Linked DNA regions of Homo sapiens: all the other regions are linked to region 3. Evidence: promoter capture Hi-C in 16 types of primary human blood cells and fetal thymus (Javierre and others, 2016). All regions are on one chromosome and are shown on one strand. The core of a region is centred on a gene start or on the middle of the fragment in contact, and the rest is flanking DNA. Distances in the headings are between cores, read along the strand shown.

Evidence for each region. Contacts are between HindIII fragments. The CHiCAGO score rates a contact against its expected background, and 5 or more counts as called.
Region 1: a fragment that was not itself captured here is called in contact with the fragment with the promoter of METTL21A in region 3 in 1 of 17 cell types (total CD8 T cells); the score reaches 5.7 in total CD8 T cells.
Region 2: a contact is called between a fragment that was not itself captured here and the fragment with the promoter of METTL21A in region 3, in 1 of 17 cell types (total B cells). The highest score is 5.4, in total B cells.
Region 4: a contact is called between a fragment that was not itself captured here and the fragment with the promoter of METTL21A in region 3, in 4 of 17 cell types (M2 macrophages, total CD8 T cells, M1 macrophages and 1 more). The highest score is 6.7, in M2 macrophages.

What each region holds. Positions count from the first base shown.
Region 1 is chr2:207,964,601-207,967,300 of GRCh38, forward strand. The region is part of intron 3 of PLEKHM3 (pleckstrin homology domain containing M3); the gene reads right to left. Among named protein-coding and RNA genes, the nearest start is that of PLEKHM3, 60 kb to the right of the region's middle. The HindIII fragment of the contact is 1,861 bases long and covers 507-2,367 here.
Region 2 is chr2:207,989,266-207,991,965 of GRCh38, forward strand. All of the region lies in intron 2 of PLEKHM3 (pleckstrin homology domain containing M3), which reads right to left. Among named protein-coding and RNA genes, the nearest start is that of PLEKHM3, 35 kb to the right of the region's middle. The HindIII fragment of the contact is 8,087 bases long and covers 1-2,700 here.
Region 3 is chr2:207,624,008-207,626,707 of GRCh38, forward strand. METTL21A (methyltransferase 21A, HSPA lysine) reads right to left here and starts at 1,387. Exons shown (of 4, transcript NM_001127395.5): 1 at 1,055-1,387; 2 at 222-397. The coding sequence starts at 368. RefSeq lists a silencer at 983-1,582 and enhancers at 1,853-2,557, 2,558-2,700. The HindIII fragment of the contact is 10,824 bases long and covers 1-2,700 here.
Region 4 is chr2:208,008,332-208,011,031 of GRCh38, forward strand. The region is part of intron 1 of PLEKHM3 (pleckstrin homology domain containing M3); the gene reads right to left. Among named protein-coding and RNA genes, the nearest start is that of PLEKHM3, 16 kb to the right of the region's middle. The HindIII fragment of the contact is 554 bases long and covers 1,020-1,573 here.

The sequences.
Region 1 (2,700 bases), core at 187-2,686, 340 kb after region 3:
GGGTGTAAAAGATTTTTCACACCCAGAAGTCTTCAACAAAGTACAATGCAGAACCATAACGAACATGGTCAAACATCAGCTGTCCTCCTGATCTCACTGCTTTTCAGGCTTGCTCCATTTTTCACCTGAAAAAAGGGAGGGAGTTTCACGCTCTTTGGGTTTTTATTACTGTAATTTAATTAAAACTTTTTTATGTTAACATATTTCAAGGTATAAAGATGGATAGCCATACATACAGGCATTTATCCTACTGCAAAATTAACCTGTACTTTACCCCCACACCTCAATTTCTGGGACTGTGTGTGGTCCAAGTTTGCTGAATGTACAAATGATTAGATGAAAATATTAATGCAAGAAATAAGTTGGTACTGCTATATTACTAGATTTCCTTACCTAGTGGATATATTTTAAAATGGCAAGTTTTTCACTTAAGTATGTTTCTGTCTTCAGGGAGTATAATAGATTTTAGAAACTCTCAAGTAGCTTTTATTCTTAGGTCCATGAAAAGCTTAGTTTTTCAAGGAACTTAGCTAGAAATTAAGGAGAATCTTAACCTGCCCAAGTTTATCTTAAAACTGTACCTACACCAGTTTCTCTCCCAGTGAAAGGTCAGTAAATAAAAACTTTGAAGTCAATGTGGAATCCAATGGTACATTAACACTCTCTTTAGAAGTTACGCCGGAAATGAACACATGATGAGAACAATGTTAACCAAAAAGGAAGCTACAAAAAGGGACAAGAACTTTCCAGACCAAAGTATAGCAACAAAGACTAGGAGAAATGAACGGCTTAAAAAAAAAAAAACGACAGCACAGCTATGGCCTATGAAGTTCAGGAAGGTCCATCAAAAGATCTATATCTTCTGAAATTCAAAATGATTTTATTCTTCTGAAACATATCAAAGACCAACATGTGACTTCTATGATGAGAATACCAGGAATAAATCAAAAAAGCAAATTTATATCCTATAAAATCAAAGGGCCTACTTATATAAAGTGATCAAATCTCTTTGAATTTTAGGATATGAAATAGTTTAAAACACAAATTATATAACATTCTTCTTCCATAGACTCGCATTACTGCTTTAGTATGTATTCATATTCTTCTTATACATTTATTTTTATTTAAAATTATTTCCTGGCCTAGAAACTTAAGACTGCAAAAAGTAAAGTAATTTATTTAATGATAGACATCAGAGCCAGGAAAAGAATTTCCATGTCCTGTCTCCTTAGTCAATTGATATTTCTACTAGTTTAAGTTCTCTTCCCCAAAGGAAAAACGTATTACTTATTAAATAAAGTTTAAATGAAGGACCACATTAATCTCATTTTCTCTAACCCTCTATAGACATTCAAAGGATCACAAAATGAGAGATAAAAGGAACCACACAGAGCAAAGTCAGTCCCTCTAAAATATGCCAGACAGAGGTGGAAGAGTTGGAAGGAAAGTCTAAGACCTTTGAGTTCAACTGTGTGTTATAATTACTTATTTATTTGTCTGGCTTCCAGTTTTCAAATTCTGTAAGGACACAAAATGAGACTGATTGCCTTGTTCACTCTGCAGAAAGCATAGTGCTTAGCACATAGTAAGGCTTCCATAAACATTTGCAGAAAGGCTGAATGAATAAATCTCTATCCTGCAGATGAGAAAATTCTAAATCAGACAAGTTAAATGACTTGTCTTAAGGTCAAAATTCCAGGCCTCTTGCCATTCTACTCATTTTCACCCATGGCCATCAAGTTTTCTTAAATAAGAAAAAATACAATCCACTCTGCATATTTTTGTTACCTTGGCCCAACAGGATTACACATAGTAACCCTCTTTTCTCCTCTAAGTGACAGCCTTCAAACATGAGGGGATAATACTTGTGTCTTCCCTATTCTAGGTTACATTGATTTGCATGCTACGGTTTTTAGCTCCTTCACTATCACACATCAATAGATGTGGATGAGTATTTTTTCTTTTTTTTTGAGACGGAGTCTCCCTCTGTCGCCCAGGCTGGAGTACAGTGGCTCAATCTTGGCTCGCTGCAACCTCCACCTCCCGGGTTCAAGAGGTTCTCCTACCTCAGCCTCCCGAGTAGCTGGGACTACAGGTGCCTGCCACCATGCCCGGCTAATTTTTTTTTATGTCTAGTAGAGATGGGGTTTCACCATGTTGGCCGGGCTGGTCTCGATCTCCTGACCTCGTGATCCACCCACCTCGGCCTCCCAAAGTGCTGGGATTACAGGCGTGAGCCACCCCGCACCCAGCCTAGGATGTGTATTCTTAAAGAACAGCATACATAACTGAAGTTTCCAGATATGGTCTGGCCAGGGCAGAGTGCAGCAAGAATATTACCTCTTCTTTATGGATCTGTTTTGTAAAAGCTTTCCTTTTCTTTCTTTTATTTTTATTTTTTTAGACAGGATCTCACTCTGTCACCCAGGCTGAAGTGCAGTGTCATGATTATAGCTCACCGCAGCCTGGAACTCCTGGGCTCAAATAATCCTTTTACCTCAGTCTCCTGCACAGCTGGGACTACTACAGGCATCAGCCACCAGGCTGGGCTATTTTTTTTATTTTTTATTTTTTGGTGGAGACAGGGTCTTGCTATGTTGCTCAGGCTGGTCTCAAACTCCTGGCCTCAGGCAATCCTCCCACTTCAGCCTCCCAAAATGCTGAGATTATTGACATGAGCTACTGCACCAATCTTGTAAA
Region 2 (2,700 bases), core at 101-2,600, 370 kb after region 3:
AGTATCTGCAATATGCAGCATAAAGTACTCAGAGCCTTCTAACACGCAAGAGAAGAAAGAGAGGGCTTTTGCCTGGGAAGTTCTTAAAAGTCTTGAGAAGGAGGTGGTATCTGAGGTAGACTTTGAAGACAGGATAGAATTGATATTCAGAGACGGCAGGAAGGGGTAAAGAGCATTCCAGATGGTGGGCCTTCACTTAGATTTTCCCTTTCCTTCATCCATTATCCTCCATCTATCCCCAATTACAGCCTTTCTTTTCCTTTTCACAAGTCCCACTTTCTCTTTATTGCCACTATCACACTAATCTGAGTCCTCAACACTAATCTGAGTCCTCATCACACATCATGACGCCTGGCAGACCTTCTGATTGGTTTCCATCCCTTAGTTCTTTCCACCTACCAATCATTCCATGCACTGTTGGGGCCTGAGGAGACCCACTGAAGAGCCTTCCTTTTCCTCACCCAACTTTTGAACCAATTGAGATAGACAGAGGGTGGTCAGATACATGGGGATCAAAACATCAGACAGTTGGAGGATGCAACTTAGTTGCGTAGCAGCAAATTGAACCCCAGGATTTCAGAGACTTACCTCTGAGTCACAAGCATCACTGGATAGCCAGAGGCCTCCCCTCCTGGGAAACTGCCCATGAAGGGCTGATGGCATGGAGGAGCAGATCTGGGGGAGCGGACCAGAATTAGTGCTCTTAGGACAGCAGCTGAATTACCTGGTTCCTCTCCTAAACTTGCCAATAAGTCACTCCTCCTTCTCATGGGTGGGGTGTGCAAAGGGATGGACGGAGGCCAAGAGTGCTATTCCAGCTGACGTCCCTTTACATGGACACATAAAGCCACTGAAAAGGAGGGTCCCTGCTACCCTATCACCACTTTCACCCCACCAACTTCCATATTTCTTATTAAATACCCTTTTAATCTTGAGTCTCAAGACATGTGTGGTTGCTTCTTGCCAAATATATCACAGTAAGTCTATTCATATGGCTTTGAAGGTCCTCCAAAGTCTCAGCTCACTACTCCAAAATGTACCCCTGTTCTAGGTTAGCCTCCTGACCATCTCATACATACGCTGTGTTCTTTCCACCTTGACTTTGTGCTCAATCCTCAAAGCTCAGCTGAAATAGCCTTTCCTCAATGAAGACTCCTCTGGCATTCTGAGTCACAATCATCACTCTTTTCTTTGCATTCCTGGTTAATAAAATACAGTTTTCCAAGTCAATTTGTTTCATATTATAGTACTCGACTATGTTCAAGCCAGAAACAAACGGAAAAAATGAACTAATTTTAGGTCTTTGTTCTCCTCATTACAGGCACATCGGGGCACACTAATCATGACACTGCCACACATGTCCATAGCAAAGAACATGAAGAGAGTGATACTACAGGAATCAAAGCTGGACTGTGTCTTGCACATATTTAATATGCTCCACAGGCCCTCGTACAGTGTTGGCCAGTGGAGTACACAGATGGTATTCCACAGATATTTTTATTAACAAATTTGTTCTGGTAGAAATGAACTAGTCTTTTCTATGGCTACTTTGGAGACTTTCTTTTTGGGTAAAAAGAGGATATTCCATTCATTTTCCCTTCATAAACCTAGGAAAAAGATTACCTATGTCAGCTCTAGTGGAAACAGACCTGTAACATATCTGGCTACATATTAACATTAACTAGATATACCAGTTTAGGGATCTCTTCCATCCAGTTCTTTGCTATGGGCAACAGTGATAGAGCATAAGTCAATACATTCCTGGCCAATTTTTCTCAAGTGTGAACCTGACTAGGAGATCACAGATCCAACTTTTTAAAAGCAGAGATTTTCTGTCTTCTGTGATGAGGGCAAGCCTTAGCCTCTGTTGAGGTTTTGGACCCAGGAAACAATTCCAAACATCACCTTTCAAACCATGCTTATTCTTTGCCATGGTGAGCTTTTGGCTCTATATATCTAATCTATAGGAATTAAATATAAAAGACCCTCCCATACTTAGGCTGCTGGATTTTAGGCATAAATGGCATTCCATTACAATTTCTTGATGCAGCCTACAGAATTATAGAGACTTAGAGCTGGAAGAGATCCTAGAAATCCCACTAGCACATCCACATGTAAGGCAAAACCTATCAGCTGCCTTCATTAACAGAACCCTAATTTTGTTCAGGTATGGGGGCAATATGCTCAGGAAAGATGGCCTCTCCCCTGCCCTGTAAAAAGAATAATAATTTGTTTAATCCAATCACAGTAATCCTATTTTCCTTTGCCAGAGATTGCCTTAGGGGTGGACATGTGACCCAGTTCTGGCCAAGGAGCGGGTGCTATTGGGAGCCTCTGGAAAAAAAGACCCAGAAGAGATGCCCTGCTCTCTCTCTTCCTGGTTTTTACTGTTGGTATTTAAGAAAATGATCCTAACACATTTGGGAAGTTAGGAAAATGTTTTTTAAAATGATCCTTGGGGCAGCTGTAGCCACTTTGTACCAATGATGGGAGAGAAGAGAAATCACCAATATACCAAGGAAAACAAAGCAAAAAGATGGAAAGCCTGTAGGTCCTGGATGACCCCAAGACCACCTACCCCTGGGTATCCTGTGAAGTGTTTATTGCATAAGTCCTCGACATTCACTAAGTGCTCAATAGTTATCTGTCAGATAAAAGAAAAATTACAGTGATATTTTGGCCTTACTATTTGTGCCACTT
Region 3 (2,700 bases), core at 137-2,636:
GAGTGGCAGTGATAGTAAAACTTTTAAAATTGAAGCGGTAATAGTTGCACTACTCTGTGAATATACTGTATTTTTAAAACCGCACTGAATTGTGCACTTTAAATAGGTAAAGTGTATGCTATGTGAATTATATCTCAATAAAGCTGTTCTAAAAAAAATAAAAAATAAAAGCCAGTCTTGCAAGTGTGAACGTTTTCAGAGGTCCCCCAGGGCTTACTTACCGCATCCCAAACCACCGCTGCGACTCCCAGGTGTCTCCAGTCCTGCCGGATCTGGATCGTGTGGTTTGCAAAGGAAAAAGTTGCAAGAGGCTTGTGGAATTTCTGCAACCCAAATTCCGTGGTCTCCTCATAGGGCACGAGGGCCATTCCGCCTGCACCCCGCCCTCTGCTCAGACCTGCCGTGCAAAAGAATCCTGGGTGACGCTCTGGCCAAAAGATACATTATCTGTTCTTAACTAACTCCAAATGCTTTTAAGGTCGTTTACAAGTTCAAAAGAAAAAAAGAAACAGGTGGAGGAAGCCTTTGTCCAATTTCTTTTGCATGGCTCTTCCGAATCTGAGTGAGATTTGGCTCGGAATTTGTGTCAACGGATGTGTTTGGGGAAGAAGAAAAAAAAAGCCCAGAACATTCCAACTTCCGCAGAATACCCTATACACTGCACTGCTACCACTCCGTGAATTCAGAACTACACAAGCGGCGGAAGCGGCGGTGATCGCCCAGGGCCCCAGAGCAGCGCGGAAAGCAGCGCTTCCAACCCAGACCCGGGCGCCCGGACTGCAGCTGCAGCCAGCCGGGCGGCCCGGGTTCTTTCGCTACGGTTTCGCTACCCACCTCCCCTCCTCCATCGGCTGCTTCGATAGTGATAACAATGGGACAGAACCTGCCCTTAGACTGGGTGTTAGCGGTTTGATAAACCAGAAATACATGGTCGCCGCAGTTCCGTCTCCCCGACCCTGGAAGTGAGCGACACTGGGGGCCTCCAAGCGGCTCGCGGGGACAGCGGGGACTCGGAGGCCTCCCCGAACTCCCCCTATAGCTGCCCCCCACTCACCCCTCTCCCGGGACGACCAGTGCGCCCTTCCTGCCCGGGGGCCCCGGAGCTGCGGCAACCCTCCAGGGGTGAGAGGGAGACCAGGCGAGGGGGGTCACAGGGCCTCTTAGGATCCCCAGGCCATACGGGGCGCCGTGAGCTGCCCGGCGGAGCACCCAGGGCTCGCCCAGGCCGGGCTGAGGCGCCGCCACGCCGGTACTTACGGCCCGGGAGGCGGTCCCGCGTGGAGCGCGCGCTCCGCTTTCCCCGCCCCGGGCTGGCTGCGAAAACCGCCGGCCTTAAAGAGCCCGCGACGCGGGGGCGGGCGGCCCCGGCCCGGAGCCACGCATTTCCGGTCTCCCGGCACCCAGCCTCCGGCAGGTGCCCCCGGAGCTCACGGCGAGGGCGGGGCCGGGCCGTGGCGCGGTGGAGGAGTGACGTTGCGGGAGGGGGGACCGGGGCTTTCCCTCGTGCGTCCCCAGGGTACACGGACGACTTAATCCGTTTCCCCCGCCGCCGAGGGAGGCGCTGTGGGGGCGGGAGCAAGAGTGAGATCGGGGTGCCGAACTGCCGCGGGTGCACAGGGAGAGCATGGGGTGCCCTGGGCTCTCCTAGCGGGAGAGAAAAGCCACCCACCTGGCGCTGAATGTGCCTCTCGACCTTTTCTATCATGTGCTCCGCCGCTCTCTGCCTCTGACTTTGTCGCTTGCGCGTTGTGCCTGTTTTTTAAAGGTGGCGCGTTAGCGGATGATGGAGACAGCTCGCTCCGAAGAAGGCATGGTCACTCTAGTCCCCGCGTCTCCACGGTGGGGTCAGAAGCGGCGTAATAGCCCGCTTGGCGGCAATCGAGTGGAAAAGTCACAAAACCCTTTTCAACTAAAGCACAGTGGGGGAAGTGAACACGTGGCGCCCGAGTCCAAGTTTTTAAAGTGGGGCGGGGGTCGGCGGGCTCTGGCTGCAGTCGGAAGCGCGGAGCTCTGGGCGTGCGCTCGGCTCCAGCCCCGGCCCCAGGCGGCGCTGCAGACTCCAGTGCCCCAGTCTCCCTCCTCCCGATGCCAAGACGCACCTGCCCGTGAGGACCCACGCTGGACGTGGAAGGTGCCGAGGGCCTGGTACCCTGGCCGCAGGCCCTGGCAGAGCGCGCGGCTGGAGTGGGTCCATTGAGTGGGACCGTGCGGGGACCGGCATCCTCCCGGGGCAGGCTTCTTTTTCCTCCTGGGGCCCCTCGCCCCACACCGCCCGCTGCGCTCTCAGCGCGGCTGCACGTTAGAACCAGCTGGGGTAAACCTCCCTTACCAGTCCCCCGCCCCAAGAGCTGGCCATGGGAGGGGGCCCGAGCGCTGATTTTTTTGTTTGGTTTTTTGCTTTTGTTTTTGTTTTTGTTTTTGTTTTGAGACGGAGTCTCTCTCTGTCGCCCAGGCTGGAGTGCAAGGGCGCGAACTCGGCTCACTGCAGTCTCCGCCTTCCGGGTTCAAGCGATTCTCCTGCCTCATTCTCCCGTGTAGCTAGGATTACAGGCCTGCGCCAGCACGCCAGCTAATTTTTGTGGGATTTTGTTTGTTTGTTTGAGACGGAGTCTTGCTCTGTCGCCAGGCTGGAGTGCAGTGGCGCGATCTCGGCTCACTGCAGCCTCCACCTCCCGGGTTCAAGCAGTTCTCCTGCCTCAG
Region 4 (2,700 bases), core at 47-2,546, 380 kb after region 3:
ATGGAAAAGAAAATAAAAATCAGTCATGATCTCATAACTCAGTGAAAATAAATAGGTGTACTTTTATCCAATATTTAATTGGAATCAAAACTATATACACAGTTTGGGCACACTGTTTGTTTAAATGTATGCTCCAAAAAAATCAAATACCAGTAAATACTAACCTTGCCAAAAAAAAAAAAAAAAAAAAAAAACAGACAAAAAAAAATGTCCCAGGGAGTGCTGTGCCTACTTATACCTTACAACCTGACACAAGACCCCACTCAATTGAACTTCTCTTCTATAGCCACCAAGGGACCTCCTTGTTACACAGCCATTAGTGTTTCCCAAAGTCCTTAAATTCCTTGTGCTGTTAACCAGCCCCTCCTTAAAAGTTTCCTCCCAGGGTTTTGTGGGTACCACATTCACTGAAGTTTTCTTCTCATTTCTACCCACTTAGTCTCCATCTTCTTCCTTCCCTTCCTGGTCAAATAGGGGTGTTGTCTGAGCTCTCTTCTCTGGCTAGAGCTACATGATGTTCTCCTTAAATCAAGTTATCCACACGTGCAACTCCAATAACTTCTTCTATATTCACGCTGTTCAAATTTCTACCTTCAGTCTCAATCTCAGAATTGACTTCTGGTCCTATGTTCCCAGCTATTTGTAAGACATTTCTACCTGGCTTACTAAGCTCCATTTGTCTAAAATTACACTCAGTTATTTATTCAGTAAGTATTTGCTGAGTGCCTACTATGGGGGGGACACTGTTCTGGGCACCAGGGAAACCCTTCGACGAAGCTCCCATTGACAACAAGGTTCAACTCTTTAACCTGACATTCTAGGCCTTTCACAATCTTGGGCTAGTTTGCCATTCCAACTTTCTACTTCAATTCACACACTCTTTACCTCCAAACTGAATGCTATTGCTTTTCCAGTTATTTCAGGAAAGGCTTGCAGTTATCTCTGAAATACCCTCTTCCCACCTCAACCTACTGAAATTCTATTCTTCAAGGCCCAGCTCAAATGCCACCTCTTCCGCAAGCTTTTTTGGGTCCCTGATCCTAAAATGGTCTGTTCTTTCTTTAAACTGCCACTGAATATCTTTGGTACCTCCCCCACAACATATACTATATGCTGCATGTTCCTTCTCAAATGACGATGACAATAATTACAGGTTATCAAAAGCCTATTTTGTGCCAGGTATGTCGCTTGGTATTTCATATCTCTAAGCCCCAAAATGTACAATGTGAGTACTATTACCCTCATTTTACGAATGAGGAAGCTCAATGATATCAAGTAACTTACCTGATATCAAGTAACACGCCTACCTACTGGACTTAGAGGAACTTGAAAGCAGCAATTCTGCCCTCTTCCATTTGTGTAACTCTCACTGGGCCTAGAACTGTGGTTAGTACACAGTGGGTACTCAGTAAGCATTTGCCAAATGAATAACTGAATAAACAGTATATTTTCAAGCCACTGACATCTGTAAGTATATATACCACTCTAGTTTCCTGGCAAAATTATATTTGAATTCCTTATAGGCTCATTTCAGTAAAATTTGACATACTTTCCGAAACGTTATGTTGACTCAAGCTTTTACATTTTTTTCTTGGTAGAAAAGTCTTCCTAACTATTAAAACCTGGGTTTAAAAAATAATATGGCAAAGATCAGGTAGCAAAAACCTCACTCAGACCTTTTATAGAAACCAAAGCACCTATGCATTACTTAGGAATTGTCCTGTGAACCACTACACTATCAGCAACTTGGCTGGGTTCATTTTCCAATGACTTAGAGCTCAAGCTCTTTACAACACCAGTAATGAGATGTTCCCTTTGAAGTAGTCCCAACAATCCATTTAAAGCATTTTTCAGTACATCTCTGCACATGTTTATTGTTTGCCACCTGCAAAATCATTGAGACATTTGCTGCCTCAGAAACCTAACTAAATATAAGCATGGCACTTTAAATCTCAGATTGCTTTGCGACTGAAGGCAGCAGTGTTACTGCACCTTTATGTGAAATTGGAAAACCAAAATGGCCCATTTTCATAAAACCACCAGAGATCCAATATGTCTTGCTCTTAGAAACAAAGCAGGAAGACACAAACTTCAGTTACGAAATGTCTAAAAATGCAGACTTGATGTTTTCCATCTCCCTTTGCCTCCATGGCAGAGAACACTGACTAGAAAACAAACAAAAGAACCACTTGAATTAGCTTTATCTTGGGACTGAGAGGAAGAAGGCAAAAACTTCCATGATAAAAACTTTATCAGCCTCCAACTGCAACAGGAGTCACAGGTGAGGTGCAAGTAGGTTCCATCAGGGCCAAGCCAGCTAGTGTGGCTGACTGCAACAGTGAATGTAACAAGGAAGTACAGTGAGACCAAATATGCAAGATACCCAGAAAGGGCTGGGGAAGTAGACTTAAAGATGTCATCAGTTTATATAACTATTTAGAATCTTCTACTTGAGCCTGAGTAATAGAGGCTGTGTTTCTAAATTCAATACAGGACTGTGTTTATCTAATTATCTCACAAAACTAAAACTGAGTTAATCTCAGGAAAAAATCACTTGGTTTTTACAGAAAATAATCATTTTTCACATGCATGGTTTAGAATAAAGTTTAAAGTGCTTGATAACAAATGGCCAATACATATATGAAAAAATGCTCAACATCACTAATGATCAGGGAAATGCAAACCAAAACCACAATGTGA